Linked DNA regions of Homo sapiens: region 1 is linked to region 2. The links are contacts of gene promoters, found by promoter capture Hi-C in blood cells and fetal thymus (Javierre and others, 2016). All regions are on one chromosome and are shown on one strand. Each heading gives the region's core, a stretch centred on a gene start or on the middle of the fragment in contact. The rest is flanking DNA. Distances are from core to core; before and after follow the strand shown.

Region 1 (6,588 bases), core at 3,179-5,678, 38 kb before region 2:
TGTGAGGTTTATGTGTTTATTTTGTGTTCAGACACTTTAGTCTTTGGAGAAAAAAACCCTGAAAAACAAAGAGTTGCATTAGCATTAGAATATGAGAAAAAGAAGGGTCACATTTAGAATATTGCAAGGCTATCAATTCACAGAAGGTATACCTGGCACATCCCTCTGAGTATTGGATGCCACTTGGTTTGAATCCTTTACTTACGGGATAAAACCGTAGGTGTTCTACCTAATCTCTATCAGTTACCTTATCAGTGACACAGGTGATGTTACAGTTGTTGGCTGCATCCCTACTGGAAAGCTGGAAGAATGGTCCATGCTGGTACATTATTCGTGGGTTAATCTAACTCTACAGCTGCACCATCCCAGGAAGCCTAAAAAATGTGAAGGTTTAGGAAATTGAAACGTTATTGACTTTTTACTCCTTGGCATCTTGTCATCTCTCAGTCCTGGCTCTTTTATTGTTGGTTTATAATCCATGGGCTCTGAATCTACCACAATAACTTTATGTTATCTATTACATATGGTATTATATAATAGCAAATATTATATTATATTACCAATATCGTGTGGTTGGCTGCATAGCATTTATTGCAAAATCATGATTTGGGCACATTTTACTCAAAATATGTTTGAATCAATTAATTTTTTTAAATCTATTTTTAAAGACAGGGTCTCTCTCTGCCACCCAGGTTGGAGTATAGTGGCATGATCATAGCTCACTGCATCCTTGAACTCTTGGGCTCAAGTGATTATCCCATCTCAGCCTCCCAAGTAGTTAGGACTACAAGCGTGCACCACCACACCTGGCTAATTTATTATTATTATGCTTTGTAAAGATGGAGTCTCACTGTGTTGCCCAGGCTGGTCTCCAGCTCCTGGGCTCAAGTGATTCTCCTGCCTCAGCCTCCCAAAGTGCTGGGATTATAGGCATGAGCCGCTGTGCCCACCTGAATCAATTTACTGATTTTGTTTTGTTTTGTTTTTGAGACCGAGTCTCACTCTGTTTCCAGACTGGGGTGCAGTGGCGTGATCTCGGCTCACTGCAACCTCCATCTCCTGGATTCAAGCTATTCTCGTGCCTCAGCCTCCTGAGTAGCTGGGACTACAGGCGTGAGTCACCGTGCCCAGGTAATTTTTGTATTTTTAGTAGAGATAGGGTTTCACCATGTTGGCCAGGCTGGTCTCGAACTCCTGACCTCAGGTGATCTGCCCTCCTCAGCCTCCCGAAGTGCTGGGATTACAGGCGTGAGCCACCGCACCCAGACTTTGAACTATTGTTCTAAAAAAAAATAGATTTTACCTTGACCAAAGAGTTTGGGACTAAATATTTTCCCCACTAGAAACATGTTGAAGTACTTATGTGGGAAAAGGGAACAGCACAGGAAATGTTGCTGAGCAAATCTCTTTACCCCCTCTTTTCAGACTGCAGTTTCACGGGGATTCCTACGCCTAAGTGCTAACACGTGTGCCTAGAAAAACAGAGGTGGCATGGATGTTAGAAGGCCGTGTGCAAGTGGATGGCATCCAATCCATAGAGTGCTTAGAGAACAGTGGAGAAAAGATGAAGGGACAAAGAGATTGTGAAGCCAGATATCCTAAGGCTGTTGAGAGAAGCTCAAGGGGGATTGGGAGTTGGAGACTTCATCCCTCATGTGGCTGAGCTGCAAGAGTAGCTCACTCCTTTCTTGATGACAGTTACTCCAAGTCAGATAATATTTTGCCTGGCCTCCGCTCAGTAAATTGAAAATGTGCAGCCATTTGAAACTACACCATGGCAGTGGCTCATACCTGTAATCCTAGCACTTTGGGAGGCTGAGGTGTGCAGATTGCTTGAGCCCAGGACTTTGAGACCAGACTGGGTTACATAGTGAAAACCCATCTCTACAAAAATAAAAAATAAAAAAAATTATCTGGATATGGTGGCCAATACCTATACTTCCAGCTACTTGGGAGGCTGAGGTGGGAGGATCATCCGAGCCCAGGAGATTGAGGCTGCAGTGAACTGAGATTGCTCCACTGTACTCCAGCTTGGGCTACAAAGTGAGACTCTGTCTCCAAAAACAAAACAAAACAAAAAACAAAAACAAAACAAAACAAAACAAAAGAACTACACCATGGGCCAGGCATGGTGGCTTGCACCTGTAATCTTAGCACTTTGAGAGGCCAAGGTGGGAGGATTGCTTTACGCCAAGAGTTCGAGACCTGCCTGGGCAGTATAGTGAGACCCCCCATCTCTAATAATAATAATAATAATAATAATAATAATAATAATAATAATAAAAATAATAAAAAGTTAAACTACTCTAGGTGCAGATTTTGGGGGCACAAGGATTTGCTGTGCACAAGCTGGGACATAGCTGCCTGTCCTGAAAACGGAGGGGTCTTGTCCACTTTCCCACCATACGCTGTGGTCATCCTTTTGACAGTCCACTCCATTGATGGAACAGATAAATCAGAAGGCCTGCTGGAAGGAAACCAATTGTTCAACTCTGCTTTTGCAAAAGAATTCAAGTCATTTAAGGTTAGCCTTAAAATAGAACACCCCAGTAATGTGATCAACATGGAACAAAAGCTTCAGGAGAGACAGGAGGTCAGAGAGAAAATGATACCTCTGGTCGGCAACCCTGCAGAGACTTCCAGGAATAAGCAGGTAGCAGGCTCAGAAATGCCACTGATATCTGATGTGCCAGCAGTTTCCAAAGACCCTGGATGTTCCTTGATTCTTTACTACTTTTTTGTGTCACCAAACACTGACTCTTACATAAGACAATTTCTGAACAGAAATTGAATATAATCTCATTAATTAGATAGGGGAGATGAATTGCAATGTAAACTTAGTGAAGAATTGGTACCTAGACAAAAGAAGGGAGTGTGAGCTCACCAAGGGTATCCACAGTCAAATTACTTTGTCTGTTGGGGTGGGCTGCTTAATTGGTGTTTTATTCTTTTGTTTATTATTGATGGTTGTGAACAGGGTCTCACTCTTTATCTTTTCTTCTTCCAAGACTTGTGTTAAATATATACTAGACCTTCTCACACTGTCTTCCAGGTCTTCTCTCATTCTGATCTGAATTTATTTTTATTAGTCTTACGTGTCTTTTATCCCCTAATTTACTCATAATGGATATTAAAAGTTGAAACAAGTTAAAGACATGTCCCATACTTCTAGAAATATGCTTAATGTAATCAAACATTGAATTTTCTCCTTGATTTTTAGGTATTCTACCCTTACAGCTACAAAAACACTTCTACTCTTAGAAAAGAAGAAGAATGCCGGGCGTGGTGGCTTACACCTGTAATCCCAGCAATTTGGGAGGCCAAGGCAGGAGGATGGTTTGAGCCCAGGAGTTCAAGACCAGGCTGGGCAACATACCTACTAAGACCTCATCTCTAAAAAATTGCATGGCATGAACCCAGGAGGCGGAGCTTGCAGTGAGCCGAGATCGTGCCATGGCACTCCAGCCTGGGCGACAGAGCAAGACTCCATCTCAAAAAAAAAATAAAAAATTACATGGCCGCGCACAGTGGCTCACACCTGTAATCCCAGCACTTTGGGAGTCCGAGGTGGGTGGATCACGAGGTCAGGAGATCGAGACCATCCTGGCCAACATGGTGAAACCCTGTCTCTACTAAAAATACAAAAATTAGCTGGGCATGGTGGCACGCACCTGTAATCCCAGCTACTTGGTAGGCTGAGGCAGGAGAATCACTTGAACCTGAGAGGCAGAGGTTGCAGTAAGCTAAGATCACGCCACTACACTCCAGCCTGGGCGACAGAGTGAGACTCCATCTCAAAAAATACATACATACATATATACATACATACATGCATGCATAAAATAACTTTGTTGTTGTAAATCTGAAATCCTCTAACCTCTAATCTTCATCATGACATTGAAACAATTGTCTCCCTTTATATTTTAATTCTGTTAAGATTCCATGTGACATTATTATTTTGTTTTTGTTTGTTTGAGATGGAGTTTCACTCTCTTGCCCAGGCTGGAGTGCAACAGTGCGTTCTGGGCTCATTGCAACCTCTGCCTCCCGGGTTCCAGCAATTCTTGTGCCTCAGACTCCCAGATAGCTGGAATTATAGGTACGTGCCACCATGCCCAGCTAATTTTTGTATTTTTAGTAAAGACGGAGTTTCACCATGTTGGCCAATCTGGTCTTGAACTCCTGACCTCAAGTGATCCTTCTGCCTTGGCATCCGAAAGTTCTGGGATTACAGGCATGAGCCACTGCACCCCGCCTATTTTTGTTTTGTATACTGAATGCTTATTTAAAATTACTCACATATATAGCAATTATTTGCTCTTTATTCCTTCTTGCACCTCTGATTTTCATTTTGGATCATTTTCATTCTCCCGAAATAATGCCTGTTAGATTTTCCTTTAATGCATGTTTGCTGGTGGTTGAAGTCTTCTTGTTCAGTTTGTCTAAAATGTTTTTATGTTGCCTTTTACCCCCAACTTGTACTTGTAATTGCCTTTGTTCTGGAAGGATACTTTTGTCGTCAGTAGGATTCTACATTGGCAGTTATTTTCTTTCAGCCAACTGAAGATATAATTCCATTCTCTTCTAGCTCCTGTAAATAAGTCTTTTGAAAGGAATCTCTTTTTCCTGTGAATACTTTAAAATTGTTCTCTTTGGTTTCTGAAGTGTCTTCATAACATATCTAGGCGTTAATTTAAAAAAATTTATACTCTTTGGGATTTGTTAGGCTTCATGAATCTGTGGGTTGATGTCCTTCATTAGTTCCAAGAATTCTTAGGTATATATTTTTTCAAATGTTGCTTCTGCCTCATTCTTTGTCTTTTCTTCTTCTAAGACTCGGGTTAAATATATACTAGACCTTCTTCCATTATCCTCTAGATCTCCTCTCAAGTCTTGTGTGCTTTATGTCTTTTTGTCTTTCCGCGCTATATCCTGGATAGTTTCTTCTGACCTATCTTCTACTTTATGAATTATCCTTTCAGTTGTATCAAATATGTTTATTCCATCTGCTATGGACTGAATTGTGCACCCCTATATTCATATGTTGAAGCCCTAACCCACAATATGACTGTGTTTGGAGACAGGTCCTATATAAGGAGGTAATTAAGATTAACTTCAGTTATAAGGGTGGGTACCTGTTCTGATAGGATTCATGCACTTAAAGCAGAGACACCAGAAAGCTCACTTTCTCTCTCTCTGCCATGCAGAGAGAAGGTGGCTATTTGCAGCCTCATTAGAAACCCTAGCAGAACCTTGATCTTGGACTTTCCAGCCTCTAGAATGGAGTCTCCCTCAGAATTATTGTCTGATAAAATAATTTATGTTTTTAAACCACACAATCAGCTGGGTGCAGTGGCTCATGCCTGTAATCCCAGCACTTTGGGAGGCCAAGGTGAATGGATCACTTGAGTCCAGTAATTTGACACCAGCCTGGACAATATAGCAAAACCTCATCTCTACAAGAAATGACAACAACAACAACAAAATTAGCCGGGAGTGGTGGCACACACCTGTAATACCAGCCACTTGGGAGGCTGAGGCACAAGAATCATTTGAACCTAGGAGGCAGAGGTTGCAGTGAGACACGATCAGGCCACTGCACTCCAGTCTGGGTGACAGAGTGAGACTCAAAAGAAAAAGTAAAATGTTTTTTAAAAATGAAAGAATAGGCATTTAAACTTTTACCCGGGAAATTTCTTTTTCTTTCTTTTTTTCTTTTTCTTTTTCTTTTTTTTTTTTTTTTTTTTTTTTTTTTTTTTTTTTTGAGGCAGGGTCTTGCTCTGCCCCGAGGTTGGAGTGCAGTGATGTGATTATGGCTCCCTGCAGCCTCAACTTCCCAGCCTCAAGTCATCTTCCCACCTCAGCTCCTGAGTAGCTGGAACTACAGGCACATACCACATGCCCAGCTAACTTTTTTATTTTTTGTATAGATGGGTCTTACTATATTGCCCAGGCTGGTCTCGAGTTCTTTGGCCGCAAGAGATCCTCCCACCTCAGCCTCCCAAGGTACTGAGATTACAGGTGTGAGCCACTGTGCCTGGCCAGAACTCTCACTATACAGTCCTATCCATTTACAGCCCTTTGCCTACATGTCCTTAGATCTGTGTTTCCCAGATTTTCCCATAAATTCCCTGCAACCTTCCTTTTGACCTTGAGTGCTCTACACAGTCATCCCATTTCTAGTTCATCTATAGGAATAGTGGAGTTGACAGCAAATAATGTTTTTCAACTGCTTGAATATTAGAGTCCTTCTCCCTTGTACAGCAATATATGTCTATGATGAAGCTTAGTAAAATAGCTGTAGAACGAATTCGGAGATAAAATTACAGGAACTCTATAACAGCACATGTGGCTTTTCTCTGTCTCTGAATCTACCTCTTCTGGAAATGAACAGGAGTAACTTAGGTGAGCTCACAAACATAGCTACTACCATGCAGTATGTACCCTTACACCACCCCTGCCCCCACTCCCACTGTAGTTTCCTGGGCTTTAGTCTGTTCTAAGTTCTTTGATGCTTGTGAAGCTACTTCTGCTGACTTTGTTGACACTGACATTGTTACCATGGTTACCAGGGAAGTCAGACAATAT
Region 2 (6,542 bases), core at 1,908-4,407:
CAAGCAAAGGTAGACACTAGCAAAGGCTTTAAGGTTTGTTTCACTGATAACAAGCCATGAAGAAGTCATGTTTCTGAGATTTCTTAGAGGGTATAAAGTTGAGTGGGTTGTGAATGAGGAGTGGGGAACAGGTGAGACCTGGGAAAAGACTTATTTATTCGTGCATATAACAATGATTTCACTTATATGTGAGTCACTGAGCTGGGCTCTGAAATACAAGCAGAGAAAAAGATAAACGTGGTCTTTGCCTTTGAGATACTTACAGTTTGGTGGGAAAAGCAGAAAGGACAAAGGAGTTTAGAGCAATCTGGGTAAACAGAGGAAAGTGAGCTATTCTTGCAAGGGACCACTAACTCTTTTCAGATAAGTCAGAGAAGGTTCCTGGAGGAAAAATTGGTTAAAGCTGAGATTGTAAGGAAGATAAACATCAAAGAAGAGAGAAGAGTGTTCGTAAGGGAAGAAATTGCATGGGGGAAGAGCTCAGAATTGAGAGAAGGCAAGCATGGAGTATTTAAGGAAAAGAAAGTCCGGGCATGGTGGCTCACACCTGTAATCCCAGCACTTTGGGAGGCCAAGGTGGCGGATCATCTGAGGTCTGGAGTTCGAGACCAGCCTGACCAACATGGTGAAAACCCATCTCTACTAAAAATAAAAAAATTAGCTGGGCATGGTGGCACATGCCTGTAATCCCAGCTGCTCAGGAGGCTGAGGCAGGAGAATTGCTTGAACCCGGGAGGCAGAGGTTGCAGTGAGCCAAGATCGCGCCACTGCACTCCAGCCTGGGCGACACAGTGAGACTCCATCTCCAAAAAATAAATAAATAAATAAATAAATAAAAGGAAAAGAAAATAGTGTATAGGTAAAATATTTATCTTAAGTCCAGGACTCCTAATTTATGGGTTATTATTCCAATTTAGGCATCGATAGGAGGCTATGAGTATACACTACTCTTTCAAGAAAATGGTGAAAGGGGAAAAGAGCCCTCAGTTTTGTTAAATTTTATAAGAGGCAATTGATTTGGTCTGACCTCCTCCACTAGGCCCCAGCAGGCCAGGCCAAATCAGAACTGAGTTACTTGTGCTAAGTGCCATGTAATCAAACTGAACTTTGAAACAAGCCCATCTTCCAGAAAACGGGAGATTCCAGTCAATCTGAGTAAATATAATAAGGAAGTCTTCTCTGTTTTAACCCTACAAGGAAAGTAACTTTGAAATGATCAATTTGCAGGGCCGGGTGCGGTGGCTCATGGCTGTAATCACAGCACTTTGGGAGGCCCAGGCGGGAAAATCACTTGAGATCAGGAGTTCAAGACTAGTCTGGCCAACATGGCAAAACCCTGTCTCTACTAGAAATACAAAAATTAGCCGGGCATGGTGGTGCACGCCTGTGATCCAGGTACTAGGGAGGCTGACACACAAGAATCACTTTAACTCAGGAGATGGAAGTTGAGATCGCACCAGGACACTCCAGCCTGGACGACAGAGTAAGACTGTCTCAAAAAAAAAAAGAAAAAAAAAAGGACGATCAATTTGCTTTTTGTTCAAATCTCTTTCTGCATTCTTTAGCCCCTTTTCTGCCTATGAAGCTAACCTTGTCTGCTCAGCTCATTGGAACATTCAATCTTATAGAATGAGATGCTGCCTGATTCTAGAATTGTAAACAAAAGCCAATTAGATCTTTAAGCTAAATCTTAATTTTGTAATTTTGTCTTTAGACAGTCTCTTTTTTGTGGTCCTGCAGTTGTGGCAGTTATGTAGTTATCTGCATGCATCAGAATATTACAATATTTTCATCCTCATCTTTAATTTCTACTTTTCATATTTTTAAAATGTAGACATTCAAGTTTATTTATTTATTTATTAAAACCATTTTGTAGGCCGGGCACGGTGGCTCACGCCTGTAATCCCAGCACTTTGGGAGGCCCAGGCAGGCGGATCACGAGGCCAGGAGATCGAGACCATCCTGGCTAACACGGTGAAACCCCGTCTCTACTAAAAATACAAAAAATTAGCCGGGCGTGGTAGCGGGCGCCTGTAGTCCCAGCTACTTGGGAGGCTGAGGCAGGAGAATGGCGTGAACCCGGGAGGCGGAGCTTGCAGTGAGCCGAGATGGCGCCACCGCACTCCAGCCTGGGCAACAGAGCGAGACTCCGTCTCAAAAAAAAAAAAACAAAACCATTTTGTAGAGACAAGGTCTCCACTGTGTTGCCCAGGTGGGTCTTGAACTCCTTGCCTCAAGTAATCCTCCCATCTTGGCCTCCCAAAGCAGTGGGATTACAGGGGCATGCCACCCCACCCTCTCCAAGACATTGAATTTTATTTATTTTTTTTTTTGAGACGGAGTTTCGCTCTCGTTGCCCAGGCTGGAGTGCAATGGCACGATCTTGGCTCACCACAACCTCCACCTTCTGGGTTCAAGCGATTCTCCTGCCTTAGTCTCCCGGGTAGCTGCGATTACAGGCTGCACCACCACACCCAGCTAATTTTGTATTTTTAGTAGAGACAGGGTTTCTCTGTTGGTAAGGCTGGTCTCGAACTCCCGACCTCAGGTGATCCTCCTGCCTCGGCCTACCAAAGTGCTGGGATTACAGGCGTGAGCCACTGAGCCCAGACGAATTTTTTTTTTTAAAAGGCAAGGTCTAGCTCTGTTGCCCAGGCTGGACTGCAGTGGCAAGAACATGGCCAACTGCAGCCTTGACCTCTCAGGCTCAAGCAATTCTCCCACCTCAGCCCCCCAACTACCTGGGCCTACAGACATGTGCCACCATGCCTCGCTAATTAAAAAAAAATTTTTTTTGTAGAGACAGTGTCTCCCTATGTTGCCCAGGCTGGTCTCAAACTCCTGGCCTCAAGTGATCCGTCTCAGCCTCCCAAAGTGCTGGGACTACAGGCGTAAGCCACCGCTCCCGGCCAACATTTAAATTTTTGAATATTTTTTCTGTTCCCTTAGGGTTTACCAAGCACATTTATCGACAAGCCTCCTCAGGAAATTGCCCAAAATAGCCACATGTGGCAAGCCTCATTGACAGGCCAAAAGCCTCAGTCAACATGGCCGCGACCGGCTTCCATTGCCCTTCACTGCCCGCAGTAAGGATGGCTCCGGTGACTTCCTTCGAACCTCACATTTCCCATAAAAAAGATGGCGCCATTGCTTCCGCGTTCCGGTTGCGGATGGTGAGTGTGTCGGGGGGCTTGGCGGCTTTTCTCCTCAGTTTTCTGGAGTGCTTTGGAGGAGAGGTAAGCGCGGGATGGGATGGGGGGGGGTTGGAGTGGTGGGGGCGGGGGTCACAGCAATGCATCTGATCGTTCTCTCTCAATTAGGAAGTTATGGAGGCTTTCCTAGGCATGTCAGGATTTCCTGCTAGCTCCCCGCCCCTTCCGCCCCAACACACGGTGTCTGCAGCCTGTGCTTTGGGGAATTTTGGGAATTTGTGGATAGTGAGTATGGATAAGCTTCGGTTTTGTTGTTTTTTTTTAAATTTTTTCAGTGACCTGCCACTTCAGGAGGTTCTGCTAAAAAACCAACAAACAAAAAAACAGCTTTCTTGGGAAATTTCTATTCACCTACTAAGTAAAATTTGCCCATTTAAAGCGTAAAAAAAAATCAAGCCTAGCATAGTGGCATTCGCCTGTAGTTCCAGCTGCTCAGGAGACTGAGGTGGGAGAATCGCTTGTGCCCCGGAGTTCCAGGCTGCAGTGAGCCCAGATCGCGCCACTGCACTCCAGCCTGGAAGACAGAGCAAGACAACGTACCCAAAAATAAATAATAAAGGGTAACATTAAGGGTTTTTTTGTTGTTGTTGACAGAATTGTGCATCTATTACTGTGATCTCATTTTAGAATACTTTCATCACTCCAAAGAAAAATCCTGCCTCCAGTAGCAGTCATTCTACATTCACCACGTCCACTCCGCCTCAAGTCCTAGACAATTGCTAGTATACTTTCTGTCTGTATAGCCTTGCCAATTCGCACGTTTGATATAAATGAAATCATACAGTGCAGCTGGCTTCTTTCATTAAGTATAATGTCAATGTTTTTGTGACTAGCTTCTTTCATGACTTTTGTTCTTTTTTTAAACGGAGTCTCATGACTCTCACTCTGTAGCCCAGGCTGGAGTATAGTGGCACGATCTTGGCTCACTGCAACCTCTGCTGCCCAGGTTCAAGCTAGTCTCCTGCCTGAGCCTCCCGAGTAGCTGGGACTACAGGCGCCTGCCACCACGTTCGACTAATTTTTGTATTTTTAGTAGAGACGAGGTTTCACCATCTTGGCCAGGCTGGTCTTGAACTCCTCAGCTCTTGATCAACCTGCCTCAGCCTCTCAAAGTGCTGAGATTACAGGTGTGAGCCACCACGCCCGGCTATCTTCTTATACTATGTATAATATTTTCAAAGCTTGTCTTTGTATCATGTGTCAGACTGTTAGCAAATAAATAAAACTCTGTAAACTATTTTAAAGCGGTTTATTCTGAGCCAGTATGATTGACCATCGCCCAGAGAGAAAACACAAACCCAAAAAGTCTTTAGTAAGTGATCCCGAGGCAGTTGGGTTATAGTTTGTTTTTTTTACATTTTAGGGAGACAGGAGTTAACAGGCAAAGACATAAATCAATACATGGAAGGTATACATTGGTTAGACCCAAAAAGGTGGATATGTCCAAGGGTGGTCTTAGAAGTCTTAGGTGGATTTTAGGGATTCTTTAGCTGACAGTTGCTTGAGAGAGTTAAGCTTTGTCTAAAGACTTGAAGTCAGTAGAAAAGAATGCTTGAACTAAGATAAGGGAGTTGTGTGGTTCAAGGTCCTTGTTACGTAGATGAAGTGTGAGTAGCAGCCTCAGAGAATAGATGGGCTAGGTGCCATGACTAGAGATGGGCTGGGCTCCATGGCTCACACCTGTAATCTCAACGCTTTGTGAGGCCGTGGCAGGCAGATCACTTGAGGTCAGGAGTTCAAGACCAGCCTGGCCAACATGATGAAACACCATCTCTACGAAAAATAAAAAAATTAGCCAGGCACGGTGGCGTGCGCCTGTAATCCCAGCTACTTGGAAGGCTGAGACACAAGAATTGCTTGAACCCAGGAGACAAAGGTTGCAGTGAGCTGAGATCGCACTACTGCACTCTAGCCTGGATGACAGAGTGAGACTCCATCTCAAAAAAAAAAAAAACAAAAAAGAGAGAATAGATGGTAAATGTCTCTTTTTGGAAATTTAGGTGTCAGAATTAATCTTTCCTGGATCTGGGAAAGGCCTAGAAAAGGAAATCCTGGCTGCATTAATGGAGATTCTCTACAGATGCAAATTTCTGTTACAAAAGACAGCTTTGTAGCTTTGTAGGGCCATTTTAAAATATGTCAAAGAAATATATTTTGGGGTTTTTTTTTTTTTTTTTTGAGGCAGAGTCTTTGTTCTGTCACCCAAACTGGAGTGCAGTAGTGCGATCTCGGCTCACTGCAACCTCTGCTTCCCAGGTTCAAGCAGTTCTCCGTCTCAGCTTCTGGAGCAGCTGGGATTACAGGTGTGCACCACCACACCTGACTAATTTTTGTATTTTGTTTGTTTGTTTGTTTTTGAGATGGAGTCTTGCCCTGTCACCTAGGCTGTAGTGCAGTGGCGCAGTCTCAGCTCACTGCAACCTCCACCTCCTGGGTTCAAGCGATTCTCCTGCCTCAGCCTACGGCGTAGCTGGGATTACAGGCACGCATTGCCATGCCTAGCTAATTTTTTGTATTTTCAGTAGAGATGGGGGGGTTTCACCATGTTGGTCAGGCTGGTCTCAAACTCCTGACCTCAAGTGATCCACCCGCCTCTGCCTCCCAAAGTGCTGGGATTACAGGCATGAGCCACCGCACCTGGCCGACATAAAATATTTTTATTTCATTCAGGGTTTGCTATCTGTCATGTGATGCTATACCAGTGTCAGGTTGGAAGATAAGCCACATTATACCAGGTTAATAAAAAAAGAAAATCCCATTTAACAAGATTTTATGGTCTGTAGGATGTATCCTAACCTATGTCTTGCATGGCCTAGGTCTTGTTTATAATTTGGTATCTTTTTTAACAATATATATAAATATAAAACATAGAGACAGGGTCTTGCCGTGTGGCCCAGGCTGGAGTCGAACTCCTGGTCTCAAAGGATCCTCCCACCTCGGCCTTCCAAAGTGATACAGAAGCTAAAAAGAAATTAATTAGGCAGTTAGCGAGGGTTAGGGAGTCCTTGGTAAAGTTTTCCTTTTAATAAAAAGCAGCCCCAAATCATTTCTAACAAAAAACAGCCTGAAAAATCAAGCTGCAAGCGTAGATAAGCAAGCTGGAAGCTTGCATAGGTAAATGCCGGCAGCTGTGCCACTAGAAAAGGGATTTCTGGAAGCCAGGTATATTCAACATAGAGGTTTCCTCTTCCCTTTACTTTGTCGCCACGTGTACAAGCAACATGGCACTGGCCAGGTTAAATCTCTATTTGTATAATAAAAGATTAGGGTGGGATGGCCAGCCTCTTAGCATGCTTTGTTAAAGGCACACCTGGTCCAACCAACCCTCTC

Evidence for each region. The method cuts DNA at HindIII sites, captures the fragments that hold promoters and counts their contacts. A CHiCAGO score of 5 or more calls a contact.
Region 1: a contact is called between a fragment that was not itself captured here and the fragment with the promoter of SHLD1 in region 2, in 6 of 17 cell types (naive CD8 T cells, non-activated CD4 T cells, total CD4 T cells and 3 more). The highest score is 8.3, in naive CD8 T cells.

What each region holds. Positions count from the first base shown.
Region 1 is chr20:5,708,182-5,714,769 of GRCh38, forward strand. It overlaps LOC105372514 (a long non-coding RNA gene), which reads right to left and starts at 370. Exons shown (of 3, transcript XR_937224.1): 1 at 248-370; 2 at 1-58. RefSeq lists a silencer at 6,402-6,588. The HindIII fragment of the contact is 3,710 bases long and covers 2,574-6,283 here.
Region 2 is chr20:5,747,244-5,753,785 of GRCh38, forward strand. It overlaps SHLD1 (shieldin complex subunit 1), which reads left to right and starts at 3,158. Exons shown (of 3, transcript NM_152504.4): 1 at 3,158-3,236. RefSeq lists an enhancer at 2,984-3,033. The HindIII fragment of the contact is 6,647 bases long and covers 1-3,450 here.